Regions from separate parts of the Homo sapiens genome. Here region 1 is linked to region 2. The links are contacts of gene promoters, found by promoter capture Hi-C in blood cells and fetal thymus (Javierre and others, 2016). All regions are on one chromosome and are shown on one strand. Each heading gives the region's core, a stretch centred on a gene start or on the middle of the fragment in contact. The rest is flanking DNA. Distances are from core to core; before and after follow the strand shown.

Region 1 (3,250 bases), core at 692-3,191, 190 kb after region 2:
TGCTGGCATTGACGATCCCCTCAAGGCCCATGCGGGCATGGCGGGCAGAAGGATGGCAGTGTCCCCATCATGGGCGTCAGCACTGCCACAGTAACACTGATGAGGTACATGTGACCTCTCCCCACTCGTTTCCTCCCAGACACCCCCCACCTGGTGGGCCTGGAGCCCCATTTCCCAGATGAGGAATCTGTCACAGCCACAACCCATAAAGAGGGAGCCACAGTCACCCATGGGTATGATGAGACACCTCATGCCGCCATATCTGACCACATTTTCCAGGAGAAGGACTTGAGTCCACGTCTTGGAAGGGTCAAAATCCTCCTTCTGAAAGGGGCATGAGGCCGGGCGCACTGGCTCATGCCTGTAATCCCAGCACTTTGGGAGGCCAAGGCAGGTGGATCACCTGAGGTCAGGAGTTCGAGACCAGCCTGGCCAACATGATGAAACCCCATCTCTCCTAAAAATACAAAAACTAGCCAGGCATGGTAGTGGGCGCCTGTAGTCCCAGCTACTTGGGAGGCTGAGGCAGGAGAATCACTTGAACCCAGAAGGCGGAGGTTGCAGTGAGCCAAAATCATGCCACTGCACTCCAGCCTGAGCTCAGAGTGACGTCAAAAAAAATTAATAATAATAAAAAAGAAAGGGGCAAGAGGCCAAAGGAATGAGAACTTCCCCAAAGTAGCAAGAACCTCCTTGGGAAGCCACCTCTTCCCCTAAGTCTTCCTAGCAGGAGCTGGGGGGCTGGACCCTTCCAAGGCCTCTGGGCTTGGTGGAGATGATCTAGATTGTGGAGAAAGCTTCAACAGGCAAAGGCCACCCAGCCAGACTGACTGTGACAAACCCACCGGGCGCAGCGTCTCGGCCACAACTTTCCATGCAAACACTTTCAGCAGGCAGCAAAGCCCCTGGGCACAACGTCCCAGCCATCACTTCTTTTTTTTTTTTTTTTGATACAGAGTCTCACTCTGTCGCTCAGGCTGGAGTGCAGTGGCAGGATCTCGGCTCATTGCAACCTCCTCCTCCCAGGTTCAAGCGATTCTCCTGCCTCAACCTCCAGAGTTGCTGGGATTAAAGACGCCCACCACCACACCTGACTAATTTTTGTATTTTTAGTAGAGAGGGGGTTTCACTATGTTGGCCAGGCTGGTCTCAAACTCTGGACCTTGTAATCTGCCTGCCTTGGGCTCCCAAAGTGCTGGGATTACAGGAGTGAGCCAAAGCACCCAGCCTAGCCACCACTTCTTATGCAAATGCCTGAAGCTGGCACATCCCTCACCCAGATCCCCCCACCTCACCCCCAGGAACAGCATGACTCAGTGAGCCTGGGCCCTACCCAGGCGTCTCCAGGGAGCGTGGGCCAAAAAGCGTGGATGCCAAAGGCCCATGTCGGAGAGGCTGCAAGGCCAGAAGGTTCCTCCAAAACTCTGCCGGTCAGGTACCTCACAGTGACAGAATTTTAGCTGGGGAGGTGCGACTCCCCAGAGGGTTTGCCTCCCCTTGCGACACCCCAAGTGGCCCAAGCCTCCTTTCCCTCCAAGGAGTCTAGACCCCGCGGCCCGAGCTGGGAGGAGGCCAGCTGGTGAACAAGTGTCCTTTGTGCTTGCAGCAAGGACCCCACCTCCTCTCCGCACACCCCAGCCAGGGCAGCCCCACTCTGTCCATCCCTGAGGTTCGGCTCAGTCATTAATGACCACCTCTACTAGGCAACGGGTTTTTTGTTGATCCCTCGAGATAGGAAGGAAGGAGAATAAGCTTTTCTCTTTCTTTTTTCCCCCTCGGTTGCAGAAGACAGAAGTTGGAACAAACAAGTTATATAACGTTGGGGGCGGTCGGGGGTGGGGGAGCGCAGTCCCTCCTGGGGACAGTTTCTTGAGTTGTGGTACCGCTGGAAGGGCCAGGGGGAAGACAGGAACTGCCCCCGCCCCTGGCCAAAAGACAAAACCTTCGTGGGACAAAAAGGCAGATGCGGGCGTTGCCTGGCAGGCTAGAAAGGCAGCTAGAGACTAAGGCCAGCCCCCACTGCCCCCCAGCAGCCCCACAAGCCTCACTGGAAAGGCAAAAGATCGACCTGATCCCATAGAAGGGAATTCCTACCTGCCAGACTGCAAGCCTCAGAGAGCAATAAGCTTTTGCACACCCCCATCCCTCCCTTCCTCCCTCTCAGCCACGTCTCTGGGACACTTCCTCCTTCTGTGTCATTCATGTTCCAGGCACACAAGAGGGCACAAGAGAGACAGGCTTTCCAACCTCAAGGCACCAGAGAAACACAACAAATAACGTTAGGTGGTGACCAGCATGATCAAGAATATACAACAAGCATGCGCCCCAGCAATTCTGCTCCTAGATGTGTACCCCAAAGGACTGAACATGAGTGTTTAGACAAAAATGTGTACACTCATGTTCATAGCAGCATGATTCATAATAGCCAAAAGGTGGAACCAATCTAAGTGTCCATCAACAGATGAATGGATGATGTGGTGCATCCACACAGTGGAATATTACTCAGCCATAAAAAGGAATGAAGTGCTGATTTAGGCTACAACATGCATGACCCCCAAAGCATCATGCTGAGTGAAAGAAGCCAGACTCAAAAGGCCACATAGTGCATGATTCTACCTATAAAACTTGAAAACGGATAGAGACAGACTGCAGATTGGTGATTGTCAGGGGCTGGGCAATGGAGAATAGGGGGTTAGTGCTAATGAAGATGGGGTCACCTTTTGCGGGGACAAAGATGTTTTGGAACTGGACAGCAGTGATGGTTGCACAATTCTGTGAATGTACTAAATGCCACTGAATTGTTCACTTAAAGTGGGTGAATTTTGTGTTACATATATAGTACCTCAAAAACAAAAAACAAAAATACAGGTTGGGCATAGTGGTTCATGCTTGTAATCCCAGCACTTCGGGAGGCTATGGCAGGAAGATCACTTGAGCCCAGGAGTTCAAGACCAGCCTGGGCAACATAATCAGACCCCATCTTGGCCGGACACAGTGGCTCATGCCTGTAATCGCAGCACTTTAGGAGGCCAAGGTGGGCGGATAACCTGAGGTCAGGAGTTCGAGACCAGCCTGACCAAGATGGAGAAACCGCATCTCTACTAAAAATACAAAATTAGCCAGGCATGGTGGCACATGTCTGTAATCTCAGCTACTCGGGAGGCTGAGGCAGGAGAATCGCTTGAACCCAGGAGGCGGATGTTTTGGTGAACCGAGATCATGCCATTGCACTATAGCCTGGACAACAAGA
Region 2 (3,187 bases), core at 451-2,950:
GCACAAAGCAAGCCTAAGGTGAAAGCAACCTGAAATCCAGAGGGTGATGAGGACATTCCCCAGGACCCCGGTGCAACACGCGCCACCCCCCCAGCCCCTCTCCCACCCCAGGCAAGCAGCGCCCAGGACCAGGAAATGCATGCCCGATACTTCTCCCAACCCAAGCCCCCATTTAAAATACCTAAGTAACCTTCTCTAAACATCCACATCATTAAAAATAAGTTTCCAACGTGGCAGACTCGTTTATGTAAAGCCATTATTGCTGTCTTATTGGAAGAACAAAACTCAAACCCAACTTTTCCAAGGCAAGAGTTGTGAAGTTATGTAACAGGTCGGTTTCAGCAACAGGCGATGCAAGAAAAAACAAAATACAACCTGCTTCCTGAATGATCTTAATAGCCAGCCAATATGTGCTCCTCCATGGGAGGCAAAAATTCTTCTCTGCCTCAACCTTCCGCTGGCCAGCGCCCCTATGCATGGGGAAAGTCGAACCTACGCTCCGTGACTGTGAAAGGTGGGGTGCCCAGATGGCTGCGACCACAGATGGGAGGTGGGACAGGCGGCCAGACCCACCAATGGGGAGACCGGGCAGGACCCCCGGACCAGGCCAGAGACAGGATTAGGGCAGGTCACCCTGGATACTCCCGGAAAGGGACTGAGGGAAGTCACTCAAGCTCCGGCCTGAGCAAGACCCGGCCCAGGTCGTAGGAGAACTCGAGGCAGAATACCGAGACCTGCGAAAGAGGGACCAGGGCAGGTCACCCTAGCCCGGATGGAATGGAAGAACTCAGATAAGTCAGGGGGCAGGTTACTCCAGGCCAGACTGATTGTGGGACACAAGGCAGGTCAGCCCGGGCCCAGGAGGGGGAGCAAACCCAGCTGGCGTAAAGGAACAGGGTCAGGTTAGCTCGGTCCCGAACGAAGTGGAGGACTCGAGGCAAGTCTGCCCGGCCCAGGAGTTGGGGGCCGAAGGAACTCAGCCAGGTCGCGGCCGGAGCGGGGGACCCGGGGCAGATCAGGCCAGGCCCGGGCAGATTGCAGGACCTGGGGCAGGTAAGCTCAGGCCGAGCCAGAGTAGGGGACCCGGGGCAGATCGCCCCAGGCCCGGCCGCGATGGGGGACTCCGGCCAAACACAGGCCGGGCCCGAGGCGAGTTCGGGGCAGGTCTCAGGCGCCGAGGCCGGGCCCGGGCTTCCGGCACCGCCATGTGCCGCTCACCTGCGCGTCGAGCTGTCCCGCCGCAGCGCCCGCGCCCGCGCCGCCCGGGCCTCCCGCGCCGCCACCGCCCGGGCCGCCGGGGCCGCCGGGGGGCGTCTGCGTCTGGCTAGGAAGAGTAAAGTCGGTGAACTCGAACTCGGAGCCCTGTGTGTCGGCGCCAAGCAGCTCGGCCTCCTCCGTGTCCAGGAAAGTGAGAGTCTGCGAGCTGGGCCCGTACGCCTCCACGCTCATGGTGCCTCCGGGTAGGGCCCTCGGGCCGGTTCCGCGCTGCACTCGAGCCCGCCGCCGCGCTGAGGCCTAGGCCGCAGGCCTCGGGTCGCTGCCGCTGTCGCCCCCGCGCGCCCGGAAAGGACCAAACCGCGCGCCCCGGCGCCAGCCGGACCGAGAGGTAACAGTGCCGAGCCGCCGCCGCTGCCGCCGAGCCCCTCCGCGCCTCAGCTCCCCTCGAAGCCGCCAGCCGCTCGCAGCCTAGAGCAGGAACTGCCGCCACCGCCGCCGTCGCCGTGCGCGTGCGCGAGCCCGACGCCGGCGGAAGCGCGCGCGCTCTTCGCGGGCGCCTGGTGCCCAGCAGGAAGACGGGACGCGCACCGCGCACGCGCAGGGGGTGGGGCTTTCAACCGCCGCTGCGGCGGCAGCTCGAGGACTTGGTCCCGCCCCAACTGCTAATTGGGGACGCCCGGGCGGCTGGCGGTGTGGACTTGGTGGTCTGCACCTGTGGTCGCTGCGACGGTGTTTCGGTTTAATTGAGCGCTAGCCGAATACCCTACATAGGTGGTCTCGGAACGCCCAACTGGAGAGACTGGGCAGGGACGGTGCGCTCCCACTCCTGGCAAAAGCTGCTTGGAACTCAGTTTCCCCATCTGTAAAATGGAGGGTGCCTCGCACATAGTAGATGCTCCCTGTGCATTGGTTTAAAAAGGGAGTGGGGCTCGGCGCGGTGGTCACACCTGTAATCCCAACACTCAGAGGCTGAGGCGGGAGAACTGCTTGAACTCAGGAGTTCGAGACCAGCCTGGGAGACAGAGTGAGACTCCATCTCTACAAAAAATATAAAAATTAGGCCGAGCGCGGTGGCTCACGCCTGTAATCCCAGCACTTTGGGAGGCCGAGGCGGGTGGATCATGACGTCAGGAGATCGAGACCATCCTGGCTAACATGGTGAAACCCCGTCTCCACTAAAAATACAAAAAATTAGCCAGGCGTGGTGGCACGAGCCTGTAGTCCCAGCTACTCAGGAGGCTGAGGCAGGAGAATCGCTTGAACCCAGGAGGCGGAGGTTGCAGTGAGCCAAGATTGTGCCACTGCACACCAGCCTGGGCAACAGAGTGAGACTCTGTCTCAAAAAAAAAAAAAAAAATTAGCTAAGCGTGGTGGTTCGCACCTGTAGTCCCAGCTACTAGGGAGGCTGAGGTGGGAGGATCGCTTGACCCTGGGAAGTTGAGGCTGCAGTAAGCCGAGATTGCACCACTGCACTCCAGCCTGGGTGACAGAGCGAGACCCTGTCTCAAAAATAAGTAAAAATAAATGAATGGGGATAGTCTTACGTACTGGGCCTGGCACTTGGAAATGATGGTTGCTGCTGTTCCTGATGCCTCTGCCACTGTTATTATACCATTACTATTTTTGCTATGATTATTATTTAGTGGACGTATACAGCAAAACAACTGGAAGCACATGGTCTGTGGTGGACTCTAGACCTGACCACTTACCAGCTGTGTGAAATTATACAAGTGACTTAACCTCTCTGAGCCTAGGGTTTCTGTTGCCATTAAGGTGGCATAGGAAGCCTGGGCAAGGTGGCTCTTTCCTGAAATCCCAGCACTTTAGGAGGTAGAGGCAAGAGAATCACTTGAGCTCAGGAGTTTGAGGCTGCGGTGAGCTATGATTGTGCCACTGCACTCCAGCCTGGGTGACAGAGATCCTATGTGTGTGTGTGTATATTAATATATATTTATTTATGTTAATATAA

The links. Contacts are between HindIII fragments. The CHiCAGO score rates a contact against its expected background, and 5 or more counts as called.
Region 1: a fragment that was not itself captured here is called in contact with the fragment with the promoter of UPF1 in region 2 in 1 of 17 cell types (megakaryocytes); the score reaches 5.3 in megakaryocytes.

What each region holds. Positions count from the first base shown.
Region 1 is chr19:18,643,511-18,646,760 of GRCh38, reverse strand. All of the region lies in intron 1 of KLHL26 (kelch like family member 26), which reads right to left. Among named protein-coding and RNA genes, the nearest start is that of KLHL26, 8.1 kb to the right of the region's middle. The HindIII fragment of the contact is 374 bases long and covers 1,755-2,128 here.
Region 2 is chr19:18,830,472-18,833,658 of GRCh38, reverse strand. It overlaps UPF1 (UPF1 RNA helicase and ATPase), which reads right to left and starts at 1,700. Exons shown (of 24, transcript NM_002911.4): 1 at 1,219-1,700. The coding sequence starts at 1,449. RefSeq lists silencers at 1,087-1,166, 1,177-1,266, 1,417-1,516, 1,637-1,896. The HindIII fragment of the contact is 13,345 bases long and covers 1-3,187 here.